Linked DNA regions of Homo sapiens: region 2 is linked to region 1. The links are contacts of gene promoters, found by promoter capture Hi-C in blood cells and fetal thymus (Javierre and others, 2016). All regions are on one chromosome and are shown on one strand. Each heading gives the region's core, a stretch centred on a gene start or on the middle of the fragment in contact. The rest is flanking DNA. Distances are from core to core; before and after follow the strand shown.

The links. Contacts are between HindIII fragments. The CHiCAGO score rates a contact against its expected background, and 5 or more counts as called.
Region 2: a contact is called between a fragment that was not itself captured here and the fragment with the promoter of ARHGAP20 in region 1, in 1 of 17 cell types (M1 macrophages). The highest score is 5.6, in M1 macrophages.

The regions. Positions count from the first base shown.
Region 1 is chr11:110,710,354-110,715,211 of GRCh38, forward strand. It overlaps ARHGAP20 (Rho GTPase activating protein 20), which reads right to left and starts at 2,084. Exons shown (of 15, transcript NM_001384657.1): 1 at 1,774-2,084. The coding sequence starts at 1,878. RefSeq lists enhancers at 303-948, 1,931-2,432 and silencers at 1,956-2,015, 2,036-2,195. The HindIII fragment of the contact is 6,153 bases long and covers 1-3,764 here.
Region 2 is chr11:110,947,780-110,952,494 of GRCh38, forward strand. No RefSeq gene overlaps it. Among named protein-coding and RNA genes, the nearest start is that of LINC02550, 150 kb to the right of the region's middle. The HindIII fragment of the contact is 1,820 bases long and covers 1,343-3,162 here.

The DNA.
Region 1 (4,858 bases), core at 834-3,333:
TTATTGGACAAGTATTACTTGATAAATGATAATAAAGCTCCTCTTTAATGCTTCCTCCCTTTGGCAGTGTTATACCCTTAGTAAAAAAAAAAGAAAAAAAGAAAAAACTGTTCAGAAAAATAAATCTTTGATTTTCTTCCAATTCCTTACGTTTACAAAAATAAAATGCTTTAAGTTTTAAAATTTATGTCAGTAAATGTAGGGCTAGCCTGATAAATTCACGTTTTATTTGGGAAGACTTGACTACACACACACACACTCCCTCCATCTCCGAAGGGGAAAAGCGACAAGGACAAACCGCAGCCTCAATACATCAAAGGCTGAGCTGGCACTACAGCCCATACATCATCAAGTTCACGGACACCCCTAGATGGCTCCGTGACACGGTCAAGGTCCTTGGGAACTCCCACACATTTCTATACTCGGCACACCGATCACCTCTCTTCAACTGACCTCTAGCCAACCTAAGATCCTGGTGGGAAGATTTATGAAAGGCAGTAAAATCAAGACAAGCAGGGAACCTGCGTAACCCCTTTAAGTCTCTAATGAAACAAATGCAATCCCTTAAGATATTTCTTAAGGAAAAGCTAGAAGATGCCTCTAATCGCAACTTGTTTCCAGAAAAGCTGGAAGGGCACCACTAAGACAAGGCAAAAAAAAAAAAAAAGGCAAAATATCGGAAAGTCTTATGCTGGAAGCGGGGGTGGGGAGGCGGGGGACAGGCAGACAGGGCTAGAAACACCCAAATCAATTCCTCAGGGAGCGAAACGGCAGAGGCCGGCAGCCCGCGGCCCACGTGCACTTGCTCAGGGAACCGTTCCAGCGAAACCTGACCCGGATCGGAATCCTCCCGCAGCACAGCGGCCGTGTTTATCGGAATGGAACGCTACAAGTTGTCACCTGCATCCCTCTCCCAGCTTTGACAGGGAACACGCGCTGCCCCCACGCCCACACCGACACCCGGATCCCTATCCAGCCCGGCCAGAGTCCCAGGGGCCAGGGACCAGTGCAGGGAGAAGGTCCCCCACCTCAGCCCTCAGGACCCCCAACCACAGCCCACCCGCCCCCACCCTGCTCGGTTCTAGGCCCAGCCGAACCTACATGTCCCCGTAGTGTCGAGCGTTATCATCCACAGTCGCCCCTCAAACTGTGACCCCCACCTGGGAGACCCGGAATCATCCAGGACCCTGGTGTGGGGGGCAGTACTCCCCATATCTGCCCCCCGAAAACTGCTATGGAGCAGCCGCGCCTCGGCGGGCAGGTGAGGGGGCCGAGCCCACCAGCGCCGCAGCCCCGCTGCCTACCTTCTTCAGCGCCGGCTGCCGCTCCCGGGCAGACATCGCCGGCCCTGACTTTGGGGCTGACACCGCCAAAGGGCAGTCAGTGCTCGCCCAGGCCACTTCGGGAGGCCCAGGGGCACGGCGAGGGGTCGGGGAAAGGCGATCGCCCACTACAGCCCGCGCGCCTAGACTGAGGGAGGAGCCGGGCTGCAGAACCGGCGGCGGATGGAGACGGGAGGGAGGCTGCGAGGTCGCTCGAGGAGAGACTAAGGCTCTAGAAACGGAGAAGCGGGCGCTCTGCGGGAGGCGGCGGCGCTGCCGCTGGCCGTCAAGGGCGGGAAGTGTTCTGGGACTCTCATTAGGGGCCGCGAGCCTCGAGCGTCAAATTCCCGCGGCGTCCGCCTAGCGCGCTGCTGTGGCGGGCGCGGAGGGCGCGCGCCGGCAGTGGGGGCTGCGGCGGCGGAGGGCACGGGCCCCCGCTCAGCGTCCTCACCTTCTTGGTGCAGCTGCCTCCCGCGAGCCGAGACACTCCTGTCAGGGAAGAGGAGCGCCCCGGCTGTCCCCCTAGAGTCTCCTGCTGGGGGGACATCGCTTCCATGAAGAAAATCTTCAAACAAATCCCAGCCCAGGAGGAGGCTACACGATCATGTCCGCGGGCTGCCGGCCGGAGGGGCGAGGACGCGCGGGCGGAGGCGCGGCTGCCGTGCTCAGGCAGGGAGCCGAGCTCCGGGTGCTCGCCGCGCGCCTCCCGTCGGGGCCATGTACCTCCGCCTGCGCTCGACACCGCGGGCTGGAGGCGAGTGCAGCGGCGACAGCCCGTCAGCGCCGCGGCCCGCCCCGCCTCGGGCCCGCCCCCTCCGCTCCGGGCGCCCTGCGCCGGGGCCCGCCCCCGCAGCCCTCCTCAGCCCTCCTCCAGCCTGGGCCCTCCTAGCCTCGTCCCAGCCTGCGGCGCGCCTGGCGGGCGTCTCTCTATATATGTTAGCACACCGGCCACCGGCTGACCTTTTCGGTCTGTGACTCCGCGTGGGTGCAGCCCGCAGGAGCTCATCGGCCTGTGTCACGCACGGGGGCCTCTAGTGCACGGACACGCGCCTCTCCCGCCACCTGCCCACTCCCACCAGACCCCATCCCTTCCCGCGCCGTGCCCGCGGCGGAAGGCGCCCCTGCAGCGCGTGCATCCGCGGAGCGGTGGCGACCTCAGCCTGAGCAGAGGAGTTGCAGTGATTCCTGCCTCGCTTTCAGCGGACTGCGGAGGGAATCCCCCACCCCACCCCACTGGGGATAGGGTGGCACGTCGCAGAGTGTCGCAGCTGTACAAATTTGGAAGCCCACAGCATCGCCTGACCTCTTGTGCAATCCCGAACGCTAGCCTGTTCGGGTAACCCTGAGTGGGCTTCTGCAGCCGGTCATGTCAGCGGCCCCTGCACATTTGCACCCGCGGTTTCCGCTGTCTGCAGGCTGCAGAGACGGGGGCATTCCAAACGTGAAAGAGCAATGAAGGAAAATGCAGACAGAGCGAGGACGCCGAAATTTGGCTAAGCTATTGAGAAGGCTACAATATGTGGAAGTGTTTATCAGATATCTGCGCCGAGAGCATAACTTCCTGTCAGCCCAAATAGAGGCAAAAATATTTTAAAGGCCAAAGAATAATCAGAGGGAGAGGATTTGGAGCTGACCCGCGTTGAGCTGAGTGTTGCTGCACTTTGCGGGGCTGGTTGACTGGTACGGATGATTCGGTAGATGGCATTCTTCCCTTGGAGTCAGGACTAGAGAAGCAGTGGCGGATTAGTGAGGAAGGACACCACGCTATGATATTAGGTTGTGGAAGGGGTTTGGTTTGCTTTTGTGGTAAGAAGAAAAAAATCGAGGTTCCTGCCAGGTTAGGCTGTTATTAGGACAGGTTGTAGAAGAATAGGGCTCTGGCCGGCTCTGTTCCAAGGAAGGGATGCTGTCCAACACACACTCGCGCGCGCACACATCACCACCATGCCCAGGAATGGTTTATTGTGGAAATAATAGGGGGAAAATGTTCCAGCCCGTTTTAAGCCTTGTCCACCTCACACTGTTTAAAGTAGGCTTACATAGGCTTTATAAATCACACACACGTATAAATCACACACACGTATAAATCACATGTATGATTTGTAAATCATCTATTATTGTGTTTATGTATGTGTGCATATACACACACAGTTTTTCATGGCTACTCTCTTTTTGCAGCTGAGACCCATGTGCAGCGACAGGACTTTGCCCCCACCATAGAGTTTGTCATGAATTCTACACGCAGAGGGCTTTGCAGTTCCTTTCATTCCTTGCTGAAATCATCCACTTACAACTCGTTAGCCTCTTTTGGTTCCTATCATAAATGCACGCTCCCAATTTTCCTTACTCTGTTTTATTTCGATAACACTTATCTCCTTCTAATATATCATGTAATTTACTTAGTATGTTTAGTGTTTATTATCTATATCTCAGAGAAATGCAAGCTTCCAGAGGGCAGGAATCTTTTGTGGGCTTTTGTTGTTGTTGTTGTTATTGTTGTTCTTTGTCGTATACCAAGTGCTTGAAGCAGTGTCTGGTGCAATAAATGTTCGTTTGCTAAGGGAATTAATGAGGCATACAAGGGTTATGAGATAGATCTTAGAAGGGCCAGACTGGTAGAGTTGGTTGTTTCACTCAGAGTGTCCCATGTTTCTGTTTGTGATCTTCTTTTTTGCACAGGTTTGATCTGTGATCAATACTACATGTTCCAAATCAAAGTAGTATTTTACTGCAGATTTGGAAAACTCACTCTTACTTCTTAATTTTTAAGTGCTTTTACTTCAAAACCCATTAGTTTTGGTTTGCATAGAAAACTGTCCCATACCTAAAGAAAACTGACTTTGCTCAGATTAATGCTATCACCAGAATCGTGTTTTAAGAACACAAATTTGATCACATCACTCCCCTGATTAAACCCTTCTTTGGCTCCTTGTGTTTACAGAATAAATTTCAAATGCCATAGTATGATATGCAAGACTGCCTATAAACAGACATCCTTGCCTCCACTTATTTCTCTTGTCATTTATTGCTCCTCTTCAACTCTCACCCTATTCCCTGTCACATTGAATTCGCCAAGAAGTCACCTTCCAAGAACTCGCCTTGCCTTCTCACATCTTTGTGACTTTGAACCTGCTGTTTGCATTGCGTGGGAAGTTTTCCTTCTATATTTCCAACCCCTATTACTTTACACTTAAATATCTAATACTTGGTGCATAGTAAATGCCCAGTAAATATTTGTTGAGGAAATAAATCTCCCAGATTTGAATCAATAATTACCTTAGAAAAATCTTCCTGACTTTATTTCTCCTTATCTAGCTACCTCCACACACCAACCATACACATGGGGCATCCACTGTAGGTAACATTTATTGATTGCTTACTTAATGCCAGTGAGTACCTGTGGGTAACAGGTAACATTTATTGAGTGCTTACTTAATGCCAGACACTGTTCTAAGCATTTTACACACATTAATTTAGTTATATCTTTATAATCTATGAGGTAGCTTCTTTTACTACCCCATTTTATAGATGAGAAA
Region 2 (4,715 bases), core at 1,003-3,502, 240 kb after region 1:
CTTGACTCTTCCTCCAGCCAGGAAGTCTCTAAGAAGAGAGTGGGGAAGGGGTGCTCAGGGGAGGGGGCATAAAAGTTTGCATAAACTCATTATGAATTTTGGGAGCTAAGACACCAGTGTTTAGGCCATAGATTCTCAGTCCATAATTCCTTTGATCAAGGAGCACCCTCTCGCTGAGAGGTCAATTTGAGAATAACCAAACAAACAAAAAGGCAATATAAGTGTGGGTGCCACAAATCCCTAGACATCAGAGGACAGGGATGTCAGTGTGGATTGGAATAACTGAGGAAGACTGCATGCAAGTGATGGATCTTAGAAGAAGCATTGGAGACCAAATGAACATCAGGTAGATAAAGAACGGAGAGGACAGTCCAGATAGGAGGATCAGCATAAGCAAAGGCCGCAGAATGGAAGTGTAGGGGTGGAGGTGGAGGTGGAAAACAGAGTACGTAATTGGGGAGGGTGGAGAGACTTGGCAAAAGCCAAAGTTTCTTGCAGAATAGTGGTGAGAAATAGGGCTGGAGAAGGACACAGCTGTTCAGCATATGACTCAATAACATTTACTTAACCTAGTTCCTTGCCCCTTGAATGAGAGATGGAATGTTCTTCATCTTGAAATAGCAATTTGGGTCACAAGTGAGGGATTTTGAAACCATACCTAGGTTCAAGGAAGGAAACAGATAGTCCTTTGCTAGGCATTCTTTTGCTTGCCCTTTAAATATTGGTGTCTCTCAGAAGTCAATCCTTCCTTGACTTCTCTTTCTGAACATCCTGTCAAGGTAATTACATCTACTGCCATGCCCTTAAACTGCCACCCATATGCTACATCTGCCAAGTCTACGTCTTTGCCCCTAGTCTTTCTCTTGGGCTCTAGACCAAGAGACTTTTGGAAGTGTTTTCTAATCACTTCAGTATCTCTGTATTAGTCCATTTTCATGCTGCTAATAAAGACATACCCGAGACTGGGCAATTTACAAAGGAAAGAGGTTTCATTGGACTTACAGTTTCACACAGCTGGGGAAGCCTCTCAATCATGGTGGAAGGAAAAGAGGAGCAAGTCACATCTTACATGGATTGCAGCAGGCAAAGAGAGAGCTTGTGTAGGGAGACTCCCATTTTTCAAAACCATCAGATCTTGTGAGACTTATTCACTATCATGAGAACAGTATGGGAAAGACCTGCCCCCATGATTCAATTACCTCTTACTGGGTCCCTCCCACAACACATGGGAATTCAAGATGAGATTTGGGTGGAGATACAGCCAAACCATACCAGTCTCTTAAATTGAGCATTATCTTCTTGCTAAGACCTACTTTACTCTTGAATTTCCTACCTCTCTTAAAGCTTCCTTCCTTCCTTTCTTCCTTCCTTCCCTCCCTCTTTCCTTCTTTCCTCCATGAAGCATTAATTGAATACTTGCTATTTTCTAGAGACCACATTAAATGACCTTTTGCCTTTGAGGAGCTCATACTATAGTGGAACAATTAGATGAGTTCAATAATTAATTTCCATTCATTTAAAAGCTGTTTCTGAAATAACTATGTATAAAATAAGTATCCATAAAACACTGAGATAAATAGAGGTAGTCAAACAGTAGGCTCAAGAAAGACCTCCTTGGTTAAATGTAATCAGAGCTGAGTCTTTAATATTGAGGAATTAATTGGACAAAGAAGAGAAGACATAAGAAATAGTGTTTGAATAGGACACAAAGAAGAGTGAGCAAGTAATTTTTGAAAAAGAATGCTCATAATAACAAAAGTAATGGCTAACATTTATTTAGCCTTCACTATATACCAGTTACTAAGATAAGCACCTCACATGTTTGCTTTTAATCTGATACTCAGTATAACCTCAGAAATAGGTAGCAGTAGCTTACCCATTGTGTAGTTCGTAATATTGAAGTCCAGATGAAAACACTTGCCCTTGAACTTTTGTGAATAAGTAGTTGAGCTGGAAACCTAAGTTTCTCTGGCTCCAGAGCCTGGATAATGGAGAGGTGCAATAAAGAAGGTTAGGGCAGTAAGCAGAAGCAGGATTCTAGAGGGTCTTACATGCCTTAGGAAAGGGATTGAGTTTTATCTGGAAAGAAATGAGGAGCTACTCCAGGCCTCTAAGCAGAGAAGTTACCTGAGGCAAATCTCCATTTAGCAAGGTCACTTATGGCAAGGAGTCCAGGATGAATTGGGGGTTGAGAGGCAAGACTGGAAGCAGATGGCTCCATTAGAAAGCTACTGTCAGCCGGGCGCGGTGACTCAGGCCTGTAATCTTCACACTTTTGGAGGCCGAGGCAGATGGATCACCTAAGGTCAGGAGTTCCAGACCAGCCTGGCCAACATGGCAAAACCCTGTCTCTACTAAAAATACAGAAATTAGCTGGGCATGGCGGTGCACTCTTGTAATCCCAGCTACTCGGGAGGCTGAGGCAAGAGAATCACTTGAACCCAGGGGGCGGAGTTTGCAGTGAGCTGAGATTGCACCACTTCACTCCAGCCTGGGTGAAACAGTGAAACTCCATCTCAAAAAATAATAAATAAAAGAAGGCTACTGTCATAGTCCAGGTGAGCTTCATGAGCCCTGGAGAAAGAGGCAGAATGGAATGACTCTGTTACACTTGGGATGTCAAGGGAAAGGGTGGGTCAAGAACAGTGCTGAGGATTTAAGAAAGTCAATTCACTTTTTTAAAAAAATATCACTCATTTCATAATTCAGTCAACAAACATTAAGTGTCTGCCTTGTGCTAGGACCATACTAGGTTCTGGGGATAAAACTGACCAACAACATATAGTCCATGGTCTCAAGGAGCCAATACTCTAATGATGGAGCTAAATAAAAATCATCACAGGTAATAACTGTGAGAGAAACGTACAAGTACATCATACTGGGCTTGGGGAGGCTGAACCACAAGTAGGCTCCCTGAAGGAGGGAATGTTCCTGATTCTTCTCTTGATTGGTAGTCTCACATTTCTAATGATCAACTGGTCACCTATGCTGGCTGTTCCTCAGACATTTCTAATCTATGTCCAGAATTAAAATTGAACCCATGCTCTCACCTCCAACATACATTCCTCCTCTCAGGTATCATATTTCATGTCCCGATCAAATTATTCATAAAATAAATATATTCTTTGAGCATCCATAAAGTGCCAGGTATTGTATCAAGCAAGCTTAGATAATTCCAAATGCAAATTAATATTTTCACTTTGATTTTAAAATAAAAAAACAGAGGTCATGGGCATCTGAATTATGTTTTCTGAGACAACATCACAAAACTTAATCTAAGTATTATTAAGAACACTAGCTTTCACATGTTTGCATTTTTTAGCACCTGTAAAAATTATTGTCCTCCCTGGAATAAAATGGATGAACAGGGCTCTAAAGCATGTTTTACTAGTTGGAAAGCAGAAACACCAGTCTCCTGCTGCAGGGCAAAGTCCACTGTGAGGTGAGAGTGACATTGTTCACCCCTTAAGATCTAGCTCCAAATGGAGGAAGCAGGCAGGGGGTGTCAGACGGGCCCCATGCTTCTGCCACCATTCAGCCTGGCCGGACAGTGTATGATTAGAACAGCTTGTGATGTCCTCGTGATAAAGACTGAGATATTTAATGGAACATTTCTACTGAGCACAGCTGGGGATCTTTCACACAGATCTACCCTCCTCCAAGGCTGTTCAATCTTTGTGTAAAGGCACAATTCTCAGCAGAATCTGTGTGATTAACCAAAGAGGGGAAAAGTGGAGGTAAAGAAGATTCTAGGGACAATACAGGAAGGCCCAGAGAGGGGTGTCTCCCACAGAACTGACCACAGAGACTTGTTCCTAATATGCGGTCCATAAATGCTCACTGAATGAATGAAAGTGAATGCATGGAGGGAGGGTGGCAGGAAGGCTGTTCAAAAGCTCTGGGCTGGAGGGACGTGGCAGAACCCATTACAGCTTTTCAATAAGGTGGTTTCAATTACACACCTCTTTCTTTGACTCACTGGTACTTTATGCCTGAAGTACTAGGGAAGGGGAAGAACAGAGGCTGAAATGTCACAATTGGCCCTAGTAGATTCTGAGATAAGTGCTCTGGGGGACTTTTGCCAAATTTGCACTCCATGAGACACCATGAGAGAGGTCTGAGCAGCTGCAGATTTCTATAGAGAGTTCCTGTCACTGAGCTAAACTGTGGAGCTCATATTTCCAGTGCTGTAGCAAAGGAAAGAGGTGACTGGGAGGCAATTTCCAAACATAAGATCCCATACAGATGTTTCTAAACAGTGCTCCCCAAATCCCAAGACCCCAAGGGAAAACCCTGGCTGCTATAACCCAAGTGCCTTTTTAAGGCCCACGGTGTACAATAGGCCTTGAAAAGTCAGTACCAGTACACTGAAAGCTCATGCCCCAGTTAACAGAAAGAACCTCATTTCCACATCTATTGAGATATGTCATCTGTGTCAGACTCATTTAACCAATGAATTAATCCCAACTGGAAACATTTACTGAGCTTCCAACATTGACAAATTTTTGTTTCTCTTCAGTCCTTGGTTGAGTCTGCAGCCAAAAGTCAAAGCACAAACTTGCCTTTAGAAAGTGAGTTCTTGATTCTAAAGCTCATTCTGAAAGAGAAAGCACTTTTCTCTCATGAGCGATCTTGTTCTCACAAGTTAGATAATTTAGATAAGTCTCTGGGGTTTGGAAAAGCCTGGAGAACACTCCGCAGTCCAGGGCCATTGA